Regions from separate parts of the Homo sapiens genome. Here all the other regions are linked to region 1. Evidence: promoter capture Hi-C in human tissues and cell types (Jung and others, 2019). All regions are on one chromosome and are shown on one strand. Each heading gives the region's core, a stretch centred on a gene start or on the middle of the fragment in contact. The rest is flanking DNA. Distances are from core to core; before and after follow the strand shown. Region 1 holds the start of FANK1 (fibronectin type III and ankyrin repeat domains 1). Region 2 overlaps FANK1 (fibronectin type III and ankyrin repeat domains 1). Region 3 overlaps DHX32 (DEAH-box helicase 32 (putative)).

Evidence for each region. The method cuts DNA at HindIII sites, captures the fragments that hold promoters and counts their contacts. A contact is called where the count stands out against the background at its distance.
Region 2: a fragment that was not itself captured here is called in contact with the fragment with the promoter of FANK1 in region 1 in 1 of the 25 tissues and cell types used here (heart right atrium).
Region 3: a fragment that was not itself captured here is called in contact with the fragment with the promoter of FANK1 in region 1 in 1 of the 25 tissues and cell types used here (aorta).

What each region holds. Positions count from the first base shown.
Region 1 is chr10:125,894,247-125,898,885 of GRCh38, forward strand. It overlaps FANK1 (fibronectin type III and ankyrin repeat domains 1), which reads left to right and starts at 2,318. Exons shown (of 11, transcript NM_145235.5): 1 at 2,318-2,409. The coding sequence starts at 2,397. It also overlaps a transcript of DHX32 not described here. RefSeq lists silencers at 1,823-1,902, 2,123-2,202, 2,363-2,502, 2,594-2,888. The HindIII fragment of the contact is 9,835 bases long and covers 1-4,639 here.
Region 2 is chr10:125,941,056-125,945,694 of GRCh38, forward strand. All of the region lies in intron 1 of FANK1 (fibronectin type III and ankyrin repeat domains 1), which reads left to right. Among named protein-coding and RNA genes, the nearest start is that of FANK1-AS1, 30 kb to the right of the region's middle. The HindIII fragment of the contact is 3,831 bases long and covers 1-3,820 here.
Region 3 is chr10:125,860,579-125,865,217 of GRCh38, forward strand. The region is part of intron 2 of DHX32 (DEAH-box helicase 32 (putative)); the gene reads right to left. Among named protein-coding and RNA genes, the nearest start is that of DHX32, 18 kb to the right of the region's middle. The HindIII fragment of the contact is 5,901 bases long and covers 1-4,639 here.

The DNA.
Region 1 (4,639 bases), core at 1,068-3,567:
TTCTGATCTCGGGTGTTTTCTCCAATAGTAAAGTGTATCCCTATATCCAAAACAATTTCTCTAAAGCCCTTCTCACTCATTCAACAAACATTTAACAGGTACATTGCACAAGGTGATAGAGGAAGAGAAACTGAATATTGTCCCTGCCTCGGACATTTCAGTGCCTTTACGCCTGACTTCCACTCCTAACCAGTCTTCTTTCACAGGTACCCTGTCCCCTAAAATCAAATGTTGCTTTTCACAGTTGCCTTTACTTGTCACCTAAAGTATTTCAATTCAAAATTTCCTCAAAGTCAACTTAACAGCTGCTGATAAAATAATCATTCTATATGATTACAAAGTGTTTCACCAATACATATCCCCATTTTTTCCAAACTTAAAACTTCTTCAGTCCTTATTACTTTAGCATAGAGACCTGCACTGTTGTTTCTTCTTTTTAAAAAAATACTAATGCTAATCCTTTACTGTTTGAGCAGACTTAATCCTACCTTTTCTTTTGTCAATAAATGCCAGGTGTTTTTTAAATCACTATCTTGTCACTTTTGATTATGATATACTGATCACTCTATTTGTATCTTGAATGAAAAGACCGCTTTGTGATTTTGCTAATGATATGTAAACTAGAACTTGAGAACCACTGGATACAGGAGTACTGCTGATCTTTATACTTTCTGTCTAAAAATGAAGCCCCTGTCTCTAAATTTCAGGAACAGGGAGTTAAGGTTCCATGAAGTGTTTACTTTCCACCCTTAATTTATTACCTTAATACTTCAGCTTAAGAATTATGTGTTCTGTATATATCACGCTGCTTGTCAATATCCACACATAAACCTTCTTGTTTTGACAATTAATCTGAAAAAGTCCCCATATAGTCTGAGAGGGGGAAAACCTAATTTGGAAGAATATAATAAATGTCAGTTTCCATCACAGAATATATGCTTCTCAAGTTCAATTAACCTCTCAATGATTCCCTAAGAGGAAAGTAATTCTCCTTAGTGTCCTTGTCATCCATGGAGTGGAAATCTTTCTACTGGCAAGATTAGTAATCACTTCCATGACCCCCAAAACGGCTCTTCCTTCCATTTCCCTCAAGTACTGTCTGGAGCAGCGGTTGGAATTAATAGAGGGGCCATAATCTCCAGACCTGAATACCAAATCAATCCTGCAGCCCCCCACACCCTTAATGCCCCTGCACTTTCTTGCTTATCCTTTTTCTCTCGTCTCCATTTTTCTTTCCTCCTTCTGGTGTTCCGGAACCTATGATACTCTCCTGGTTGTTTGAATTTTTACAACCTACCAGATAATAATCTCTTGTGATCCTCAAAGCTTCCTTAAAGCAAACCCTGAATCACTGTGTTTTAAAACCAGTATGAAAGACTATTGTGTGGGATAATGTTACATTGTTTCACAGCCCTACAAAGTTTGGCCACAAAACGTGTGGGCAGATTCCGTAACTCAACCGGAAACGCGAAGGACTGAAACAAATCAACACACAAAAAACGAAGCCAGCGAGAAAGATCCAACCCGGGCCCCCTGCCTGAAATGGGACACGGGGATGACGGGGCAAAGCCGGGCAAAACCGTGCTCCTGGCTCTCGCGATTCAGGAGACGCGCCAGGCTCACTGGGGACGACAGCGACGACGGCGGCGGCTCGCATTGCTCCACGCTTCCCGTCAGGGGGGCTCGAGGGACCGCCCCAGGCCCGGCCCATGCCCGGGCTCGGAGGGAGCCCCTGGTGCGAGGGCTGCCCGCAGGGCTCCGTCCTCCCGCTGAGGCGCGGCTCCCGGAGCAGGAGGCGCGGAGGCCGCCCTCGGCGTTTCGGAGTCGGGGCGGGGAACGTCCACGGCCAACTGCGGGCAGGGGACCCCCAGGCGGCTACAACAGGTGCGCCGGGGCCGCCCACCCGGCTCGGGGCGCGCCCGCCCCTGCGCCGACCCCCGACCCCTTCCGCCGCCGGGGCCCCGCTGTTACCTGCAGCGGCGGCTCCCGATTCCCGGGAGGGCGGCCCAGGGCCGGCGCCTTACCCGCGGGCAGGCCCACTCGCCCGACGGACGCCGCGGGTCGGCGACAGCGGGGACCGCGGGTCGGCGACGTCGGGGCACAGGTCCTGCGGGGCCGCGGGGGCCGCCAGGGAGGGCGCGACCGCCTGACCGGGCTTCAGGAGCAGTGTCCTCAGCCGGTGACCTGGCCGCTACCCTCGCTCAGTGTCCCCGGCGACGCGCGGGTCCTCACGCGCTCCCTCACTTCCTGCGGCTTTTGGTCCCTCCCGCTCGCCGTCCCTTTAGTTCTGCCCACTTCGCCTCCGGGTTGTCAGGGCAACCGTAGCGACGCCGGCCCTGGCTGAGAGGCGTTAGGAGTCCGGGGGTTCGCCCGCGGAGGCCGGGGAGCAGCCGACCATGGAGCCCCAGAGTAAGGGAGGCCCGGGCTGGAGCTGGGACCGGGGCGGGCGACCGGGCTGGGGCTCCCCGGGAACGAGTGTGGGCGCCCCGCGCGCGACTCCGCAGGTTTCAACGCTCGGACACGGAAATACGGTTTGCGTCTCCTCGCGCTTTTCTCTCCTGGAGAGGGGAGAAGGGGGCTACATCCTGCCAAGTCTGTATGGTTGGGCCGCCGGCGCCCTAGAGTCCGCGCTGGGGGCTGGGAGCGACTGGAGAGCCCCGAGGTATGGGTGGGGAAGGGCGCAGCGACCCCAGCGTGCGTCTTCCTGAAACTTCGCCCGGACGGTTCCATTTACTCCTCCTCCTACTCATGATTTTAGTTTGGTAGTTTGGTTCATTAATTGTAAGTAGCCCATTTTTCTTCTAAAATGTCAGCAATTAAACACGTCCGAGGCTGGGTCTTGTATTTATTAGAGACCCCGTCTTACTCCCCGCCCCCCGCCCCACACCCCTAGTCTGCGACTTGAAGGAGAGAGAGAGAAAAGAAGAGCTTTGTCCAAGTGTATTTGATTCATTCTTAGGGGTTCTACAAGTTAGGACACTCAAAAAATGTTTGTAATCTCTTTTTCTGTTTTCCCATGTTGCTTTCGATGTATGGCAAAAGTTGTGCAGTTTTGAGTTATCAGATCTAAACACGAGCTCTAACTTACTATTTTTGTTGTTGTTTTTACCTTTCCAGGGACTTTGTTTCAAGGCCTTTCTTTCTCTGCCCCGCCTAAGCTGTCTTATTGTTCCTTTTGTTCTCAAAATAAGGGGAGTGTTTTGTATGGAGACTTAAAATTTATCTAAAACCTTTATAGAAGGATGCAGTTTGACTCTCAAACCAAGTCGTCTTATCTTGTACAATTTCAGAAATGAAGAACTCAGACCAAATCTATTCTCTGGGGAAAATGTTGGCATTTTTAAAGGTCATTCGTTTTCCACCAAGAAAGTTTCAAATACTTTTCCTTTTAACTCATTTGCTGAGGAGAAAGCTTGCAAGTTGTGACTTATAGTTGCTTGATAGATTTTGTACAGTATTTGTCATTTGCATTTACAGCTCTTTGGATTCTACATTTTTTTAACCTAGTAAAAGAAATTTAGCATACAAGAACGCTAAAATTTTTGTTTTATGTCAAACTGATGGCAGGCTGTGTATATTCCCGCCTTAGAGAAGTGAGTTGAAATATACCTTTTAAAAACAGCAACTTGGCCTGGCCCGGTGGCTCACGCCTGTAATCCCAGCACTTTGGGAGGCTGAGGCAGGCGGATCACGAGGTCAGGAGATTGAGACCATCTTGGCCAGCATAGTGAAACCCATCTCTACTAAAATACAAAAAAAAAAAAAAAAAAAAAAAAAAAAAAAAAAAAGCCAGGTGTGGTGGCGCGTGCCTGGAGTCCTAGCTATTTGGGACGCTGAGGCCGAGGCAGGGGAATCGCTTGAACCCGGGAGGCGGAGGTTGCAGTGAGGCCAGATTGCACCGCTGCACTCCAGCCTGGTGACAGAGCGAGACTCCATCTCGAAAAAACAAAAAAAAGAACTTTATTTCTTCAGATTTATGTTACTGTTTTCATGTGTAAACTATAATTTCAAGTTCTTCAGTGCTGTCTTTATCCATTCATTCATTTATAGTGCCTGTTATGTTGCAGCTCTGTTCTAGGGATTGAGGATTGAACAACGGATCGGACAGTGTTAGTTTTGGTCATCCCAGGAAAACTAAGCAGAGGCTTGCTCAAGAACTCCTGAGGTCTTGGTGGGGTTCGGAGATTGGGGGAAGAGGAGATGGACAAAGGCTCCCAAGAGGAAGTAGTACTGGGTCTGCAGAATGACCCAGCAAAGAATGAGGGCAAGGGATTCCAGGCAGTGGGAATTACTTGTACATAGGCCCTGAGACCTGAGAGCAGCGTGGGTTTGAGGCTCACGGTAGGAAGATTAGTAAAGCTGTAGCTAAGGAGAGGAGGAGGAAAAAACAGGGTTGGAAGGAGGGAGGAGAAATGAGATAAGGCTGGAAAATTCAACCGGAGCCTGATCAGAAAGGTTCTGTAACCATGTGAGAAATGTATTACTTATGTGAACTATACATTTATATCTCATGTCATTGGATTTTGAGGTGGAAAATATTTAATTTATACCTGAGGAATGACTGTAAATTTCTTTCTTTCCACATATTCTTAAATTATTTCATCAATTTAATTTTAAATAATTCAATCACCATTTAGCT
Region 2 (4,639 bases), core at 655-3,154, 46 kb after region 1:
TGATCTCTCTTTTCCCTAGAGTCAGAAAATACATTTCTAAACTTGGGATAGGAAATAACATTTTCACAAAGGTAAACTGTAAAGAAAGTGAAATAATAAGACACAATCCTGCAGAAGTTCTATATTTGCAACATATCTAACAGGATTAGATTTCAGACTACATAAAGAATTTCTACAAGTCAATTAAAATACATCCAGTGAAAAAACAAGCAACATATGGACAATAGACATTTTGCAGAAGAAGCAATTTGGCAAATAAAATCACGGGAAGGCATTAAAGCTGTTTGGAAAACAGGGAAATAAGACCATCGTAAGATACGATTTTGCATCTACAGGACTGGCAATAATTAAGTCTGATAATGGATTATGGGTCAGTGGAAACTCATACTTCTGGGGAAAGTGGAAATTAGTATAATCACTTCGAGAAACAATTTGACATTATCACATAAGTTTGAATATTTGTGTAGCTATTGACTAATAGATTTCACTGCTATGTCTAGGCCACAAAGAAACCTTCATGTGGATACCAAGAAACCAAGAATGTTCATAGCTGTATGGTCTGCAGTAGCAAAAACCTAGAAATGACCACATGCCCATTGTGAGGAGCCTGAGTACATTATGGTATATTCACATGATGAAATATAACACAGCAATGGAAAAGTGTGAACCACGGCTACTCACAACTTGATATATCCCAGTAACATGACATTTAATAAAACAAGTCTCAAAATCATACCATTTGATACCATTGTTATAGTGGCATTAGCATTGTAGCAGCAAAGCCAAACAATACGGAAGAATTCATATTACAATGTTATTTCACTTTTATAAATCATAGGGATAATGTATGCAAAACTGGTGGTGGTGTCTTTGGGGGTTATTCAGGGCAATAGGATGGGGCCAGCACACAAGTGGGGCCACTGGTATTAGTAATGTTCTGGCCTTCAGATGGGGGCTGGTTCCCAGCATGTGCCTTTTACATTTTATTAGGGATGGGGTCCACACACCCTTCTGATGTGAAATGTCATGATAATGATGAAGGAAAACTAAATAAGAAATAGCCTCTGTATATAAAGAGTAATCAGAGTTAATATAGGAAGGGAACTTCCTAGATAAAATGCTAGGAGTAAATTTCATGGGCAGTGTGCAAGAGCATTGTGAAGACATTGAGAGTCTGCCGAGAGCCACAAAGGAAACTTGAACAAAAAGTCACAATTTGTTCTTAGAAAAATTTATTCTCGATGGATTGATAGGTGCAGCAAACCACATGGGACATGTTTACCTACGTAACAAACCTGCACGTCCTGCACGTATATTCCAGAATTTAAAAGAACAATTTATTCTTATAAAGATGTCAATTCTCCCTGACTTCATAGGCTTAACATTTTATAACAATTTTAGAGTTTTTTCCCCAATCTGGACAAGCTGAGAACTCTCAGCAAATCTTAAACGATTTGAGGAGGAGGACATTTTTTAACGAAAAGAATACAAAATTAAGAAAACGAAATTAGGTAGAAAAGCTAACATTAACTAAAAACAAGAAAATAAATTACAAATATTTAAAAGCTGACAAATATAAAACATTACCAACTTAAATTCAGAAAAATATTTTTATTAATCGACTGCTTGATACACCTGTTATATTTTTCATTTTACTAACTGAATTATCAAATCTACAAGCTTATTTGCTACTTCTATTTGAAGTTTGTGTCTTTAATTACTGCTTTTCATTAGATCTGAAATTTTTTTATAATTTGCTTTTTTTTTTTTTTTTTTGAAATGGAGTCTTGTTCTGTCACCCAGGCTAGAGTGCAATGGCATGATCTCAGCTCACTGCAACATCTGCCTCCCGGGTTCCAGCAATTCTCCTGCCTCAGCCTCCTGAGTAGCTGGGATTACAAGCGTGTGCCACCACACCGGGCTAATTTTTGTATTTTTAATAGAGATGGGGTTTCACCATATTGGCCAGGCTGGTCTCGAACTTCTGACCTCGTGATCTGCCCACTGCGGCTTCCCAAAGTGCTAGGATTACAGGCGTGAGCCACTGTGCCCAGACTATAATTTGCTGCTTGATGTCAGAATAATTTCTATTAATTTCATTGTTCATCTTTAATCACCATTGTTTCATAGTCCAGTAATTTTCTGTATTTTCTGTTAAACTCTTCATATGTCTAAATCAGGAATCAGACATTTTTCATTTTTTTTTCTAAACTAGCCTAAAATTGTTTTTCTAAATTGCAGTTAAAATGGCATATTTGACCTTTGGTAACTTTTAAAATATTGACATATAATTAATATACCACAAAACTCACCCTTTAAAAATATGCATGATTCGGTGGCTTTTTATTATATTCACAAAGTTGTACAATAATCACCATTATCTATCTTCAACATTTTCATCACCCCCAGGAGAAATCTCATAACCATTAGAAACCATTCTCCCTTTTCCTCTTCTTCCAGCCCTTTGCAACCACTAATCTACTTTGTCTGATTTGCCTATTCTGGACATTTTGTATACATAGAATTATACAATATGTGACCGTTTGTGCAATGTTTATTAAATTTTGAATGAACTCTCTATTCATGCTCAGGTGTTCCTTCTGAGTCAGAAAATATATTTTAGAGTCTTTAAGATGTTGTGTACTTTGTGCTACAAGATCTCAATGCTTTATAATGGGCAAACCACCTCACTATCCTTAGACCCTTGAATACTAAGTTGGCATGGGTGATTAAAATACTACATGTAATGTAAAAGATAAATTCAAGAAGAACGTGTAACTTGGAAAATCTGAAGTAGTCAGCAACTTTAGGGACTGGGAAGGCAGCTTTCCCAGGGATAACTAAGTGATAAAGCGAACTGCGTCCAGAATATATTTTAAGTACTTACTAATGTGAAAGCATTGTGGAATCTTCACGTCTTCTAAAAGTCACGTTTTTACGTGACTGATTGCAAATGCAACATAAGGTTAAAGTTGCTCAGAACTTATTTCATTCTGTTGAAAAGACAAAACTGCGTTTGAATTATTCTTGTGTATACTTTAATTTCAGATGAATTTTGACAGTTAAAAGTTGGTTTGCTGTAGAACATGATTTTTCTGTTTTAGAGTAGCACACGATAATGGCATACATAAAGCAATTTGCTACTGGAGAATTTGTAGCAATATTTGATGTTTGGTTTATTTACTTATTTGAGTTCCCACTTTATTTTGTACATATTTTCCCTTATTTTGATTAATTCTCCATGAGCTATTTTGGATAAATAAAAGTCATATTTGTCCTTCTACCTTTATAGTTTTCCAGGCACTCATGTAAAAATTGATCAAATCTAGAAATCAATTGGGTGATTCCTAGAAATTTCTGTTACTTGAAGAACACAACTTTTTCATTGTGATCTCTGATGAATAAACCTTTTTCACTTAACAATTCAATACCTTCCTGTTGGGAGCAGGCCCCCCAAAATCTGGCGATAAACCAGCCCCAAAACTGGCCATAAACAATCTCTGCAGCACTGTAACATGTTCATAATGGCCCTAACGCCCAAGCTGGAAGGTTGTGGGTTTACAGGAATGAGGGCAAGGAACACCTGGCCTGCCCAGGGTGGAAAACCGCTTAAAGGCATTCTTAAGCTACAAACAATAGCATGAGCGATCTGTGCCTTAAGGACATGCTCCTGCTGCAGTTAACTAGCCTAACCTATTCCTTTAATTCGGCCCATCCCTTCCTTTCCCATAAGGGATACTTTCAGTTAATTTAACATCTATAGAAACAATGCTAATGACTGGTTTGCTGTCAGTAAATACGTGGGTAAATCTCTGTTGGGGGCTGTCAGTTCTGAAGGCTGCGAGACCCCTGATTTCCCACTTCACACCTCTGTATTTCTGTGTGTGTGTCTTTAATTCCTCTAGTGCTGCTAGGTTAGGGTCTCCCCAACCGAGCTTGTCTCCACACCTTCCACTGTTCTTCTTAGTACTTCAGCATAATACTGTATGTTCCTTCTTTGTCCTGCAAGACAACGGTAAAGTGCATTATAATTAATTTATGTGTAATCCAAGTAAACAAGCCTCATTGTGTTGTATGTGTCTTATGATTAAGAGCTCAATACATTTAATCTAGTCTGACAGTTTGCCTGGTGTAAGTCATGTGTGTCTTGTTAAAAAAAATTTAATAAGAACAAAACAACTGGGGGGAGGAGCCAAGATGGCCGAATAGGAACAGCTCCGGTCTACAGCTCCCAGTGTGAGCGACGCAGAAGACGGGTGATTTCTGCATTTCCATCTGAGGTACCGGGTTTGTCTCACTAGGGAGTGCCAGACAGTGGGCGCAGGCCAGTGGGTGCGCGCACCGTGCGCAAGCCGAAGCAGGGCGAGGCATTGCCTCACTTGGGAAGCGCAAGGGGTCAGGGAGTTCCCTTTCCGAGTCAAAGAAAGGGGTGACAGACGCACCTGGAAAATCGGGTCACTCCCACCCGAATATTGTGCTTTTCAGACCGGCTTAAAAAACGGCGAACCACGAGATTATATCCCACACCTGGCTGGGAGGGTCCTACGCCCACGGAATCTCGCTGACTGCTAGCACAGCAGTCTGAGATCAAACTGCAAGGCGGCAGCGAGGCTGGGGGAGGGGTGCCTGCTATTGCCCA
Region 3 (4,639 bases), core at 1,239-3,738, 33 kb before region 1:
GAATTCCTGGAGTGGGGAGAGGTCATTAGTGATTTTAATGGGCTTTTCCCATACTTCTTGGGATGATTTTTTAAAATTAAAATAACCACCTATTAGTCACTAAGCTTAATGAAAATAACTTTCTGACACTATTTACATATTTACCTGTATTACTGCTTGAAGAAACCAATCCCATTTTTTTTTTTTTTTTTTTTTGAGATAGAGTCTCGCTCTGTCGCCCAGGCTGGAGTGCAGTGGCGCAATCTCGGCTCACTGCAAGCTCCGCCTCCCGGGTTCACGCCATTCTGCCTCAGCCTCCAGAGTAGCTGGGACTACAGGCGCCCGCCACCACGCCTGGCTAATTTTTTGTATTTTTAGTAGAGACAAGATTTCACCGTGTTAGCCAGGATGGTCTCGATCTCCTGACCTTGTGATCCAGCCACCTTGGCCTCCCAAAGTGCTGGGATTACAGGCGTGAGCCACCGCGCCCGGCCCCAATCCCATATGTTTTTTACCCATTTAAGGTATTTACTTTTATTTATTCTTGTACATGGCAATTCTGAGATTGCTATCCTTCGACAGGCCTGCCTGCAAGGTTAGCCCTTGGCTAGCATTTGGGAACTTAGATTTGGGGAGGGTCCTCACCATTCCCAGAACTGATAAAGAGTAGTTTGCCCCGCCTGTAATCCCAGCACTTTGGGAGGCCGAGGCAGGCGGATCACAAGGTCAGGATATCGAGACCATCCTGGCTAACGCGGTGAAACCCCGTCTCTACTAAAAATACAAAAAATTAGCCGGGAGTAGTGGCGGGCGCCTGTAGTACCAGCTACCCGGGAGGCTGAGGCAGGAGAATGGCGTGAACTGGAGAGGCGGAGCTTGCAGTGAGCCGAGATTGCGCCAGGGCACTCCAGCCTGGGCGACAGAGCGAGACTCCCCCAGAAAAGAGTAGTTTGCTGTGCCTGAACCATTTGTACAGGCAATATGTTTTACGCTGCACATGTGCTTTCCTTCTGGGAGTCTGGAATTTTGAAACATACTAGGCAGAGGGTGCCTCTACGGCCAGCCCTCAATAAAAACCCTGGGCACTGAGCCTGAGTTTCCCTGGTAGGGCACCATTTCACGAGCTGTGAATGAAGTGCACGGTTTGTGACTTCACTGGGCGAGAGCTCGTGAGCTTGCGCCTGGGTTCCTGTAAACTTCGTCCCATCCACTATTTCCCTTTGCTGATGTTGCTTTGTATCTTTTCAATGCAATAAACCTTAGTTATATGTAAATAATATGCTGAATCCCATGAACCTTTCTAGCAAATCACTGAACCCGGGGGTAGTCTTGGGGATCTTGACACAGTCCTCAATTAACCTCTTTCAAGGAAAAAAAAAAAAAGGAAGTAAACAAACATCTATTAAGCACCTAGTGTGAGCCAGTCACTAAGCTGGTGTATATGTTTCTCATTTAATCTTCAGAATAAATCTTCAAAGTAGATATTGCTATCCCATTACTATGACTCATTTATAAATGAGAAAACTGAAGGTCAGAAAAATTCAGTACCCTGCCCAAGGTCACAAAGCCAGGTAGAGAGTCAAGATTTAAACCCAGATAGTTGTTCTATCTGTTGTCACTGTCAAATTATAACGATTGCTTCCTTGGCCTTGTAGTTTTGGTGATAAAAGTCCATGTTCTTCCTCTCTGGATCTTTATGAGATCAAAGTGTATGCCCTCTGCCTTTCTTTTCATACAGGTTCTCATCCTGTGTCTTTCAAATGAGCAGTGATAAATTGATGATTCCTTTCCTCAAACTTAGAAAATAAAGCATCTTGAATACTATAGTATTATACTTTGTGCAAGATGCCAACAGATGCATTGAAATCTAGTTTTCAATTTTTTTTTTTTTGCTGAGGCTAATTAGAGATTTAATTTCTAATGTTATCTCTGTTTCCTTTTCAGCAAAACTCACCTAAGCACTGATCTTATAGGAAGTAATGCTGCCCCATAAGATTGAGGAGGTTTATGTGTTATGTAAATACATCTAGGCTTAATTAAAAAAAAGAGAAGATGCTAACTTATTAAAAACTCCAGCAGACTCATCCAGCAAGGCCTAGCCTTACAGATGATTATATAAGGGAATTGTGAAGGCTCAATCCTAAAACTTACTATACAAACCCACATTTTTCTGCAGTCCCACCTACTTGGGAGGCTGAGGTGGGAGATCACTCCAGCCCAGGAGGAGTCCCACATTACAGTGAGCTATGATCCCACAACTGCATCCCAGTCTGTGCAATGTGAGCAAGGCTCCAACTCAAAACAAAGCAAAAAAAAAAACTACTTTTTTTCTATATAACACAAAGATATGTTTCTGAACTTTATGGTAATGAGATATTGTGTGTATGATACTTTAAAAAGTGCTGTTAACTAATAAGTACGTAAAAAAAATAGATACACTACCAAGGTTTCAGGAAATGCAGTTTATATCTTTAAATTAAGGCTAAATTTCTAAAAGCTAAGACTATAATAAAATAAAGTTTTATTAATATTTATATTTTATAAAATTATATAATTGAGTTTAACCTTAATGAAAATTTGAGAATTTTCCAGTTCTAAAAACAGAAAAGACCACCATTTGACACTATGAGTCACTTCTATGAGATATCTTGATATGTAGTTCCTAAAGACTATTTTAGGTATATAATATTCAGGTATTCACTGTTTCAAAAAAGGCCAGAGAAAAGCTTAAAGAAGAACAAAGTTGTTACATATAGCATCCAAAAAATAGTAGTAGGCTTAAAGACAGTTTACTAATTGCCTATGATGTGTTTGATAGATACTAAGGGGCTACCAAAAAAATGAAAAAGACAGTATCAAATATAGACTACTGCCTTCTATAATCAATGATCAATTTTTTTTTTTTTTTGAGATGGAGTCTCACTCTGTTGCCCAGTCTGGAGTGCAGTGGCATGATCTCGGCTCACTGCAAGCTCTGCCTCCTGGGTTCACGCCATTCTCCTGCCTCAGCCTCCTGAGCAGCTGGGACTATAGGCACCTGCCACCACTCCCAGCTAATTTTTTTTGTATTTTTAGTAGAGACGGGGTTTCACCATGTTAGCCAGGATGGTCCCGATCTCCTGACCTTGGGATCTGCCCGCCTTGGCTTCCCAAAGTGCTGGGATTACAGGCGTGAGCCACCGTGCCCGGCCAATCAATGATCAATGTTAAATCCTCTGATTTAAATAGCTATTCAATCTGAGCTTATTCAAAATTATGGCTAGCATACCTCTTCAGGAAAATCAATCTTGTTCTAATCATAATTATAAAAATATAATTATAAACATAGCTACCACATACATACACCATGCATCAGTTACATAAATTTAATAGTCCTCACAACAACCCTCAGAGCAAGTATATTAATCGTCCACATTTTTCAGATGAGGCAACTTAAAGGTCAAAGAGGTTAGGTGACTTCTATAAGGTTACAAGTGAGTAAGTGGTGGAGACACCCTTTGACAGCCATGTTGCCTCCTCTCCAGAGCATGGAATACCAGGAAGAAAACAGGTGTTGCTTTATTTTATCATAGGGGTCTTTTCAATAGCTCTGGCCTCTTTCCTGTGACTCAAACACTGTTTACCACAATGCATCAGAGTATCTTCTGACTCTGCGCTGGTTCTGGGGGCATGTCACAGTGGAAAAGAAAGTACAATGTTCAGAAGCAAGAGTAACTGTGAAGTGAAGATATGAAAGCAATGAAGAATAAGGCAGCCCAGCAAGGGCAGAAAGAAACAACCTGCAAAACCTGTCAAAGCAGGAAGCTACTCTCCACCTGTCTCCATGGGTGCCTTTGTACCTCAGCCCACCACACCTGAAGCAACTGTCCCTGTTAAGAAAGGAATGCCATACACAGATTGAAACTAATACATACTTTAATATATAGTATTTCCTTTGGGTGTCAGAATTGAATGCTTGGGTTTTTACCATAAAACAATCCTAAGCCTAACATGTGATAGATGTTTAAAAGGTGAGGCGTGTCTAACAGTATTATTAGATTTCCCCACCATTATTTGTCTTTGTGGCTTTCCATATTAAGAAGTATCTTAGGCTGGGTGCGGTAGCTCACGCCTGTAATACCAGCACTTTCAAAGGCCGAGGCCAGCAAACTGCCTCAGCTAAGGAGTTTGAGACCAGCCCAGGCAACATGGCGAAACCCCGTCTCTACTAAAAATACAAAAAGTTAGCCAAGTGTGATGGTGCATGCCTGTAGTCCCAGCTACTTAGGAGGCTGAGGCACGATAATCGCTTGAACCCGGAAGATGGAGGTTGAAGTGAGCTGAGATCGTGCCACTTCACTCCAGCCTGGGAGACAGAGTGGGACTCTGTCTCAAAAAAAAAAAAAAAAAAAAAAAAAAAAAAAAAAAAAAGAAAGAAAAAGAAATATCTGATTCCATATCATGACAAAGCTCTTATAATATCTCATTTTAAAAATGACTACATTAAAGAATCCTTTTAAAGGGTTTTCAAAGTCTAGATGGTATTAAAGATATAATATTAACTTCAGAACCTAGTCAGAGCCATCATTTAATTAAAAACATAATTCAAAGGGCTACTTTAAAATGTCAAACCAACCAACCAACCACAAATCTGCTTAGGGATCCTTCACCCTTTCAGGGT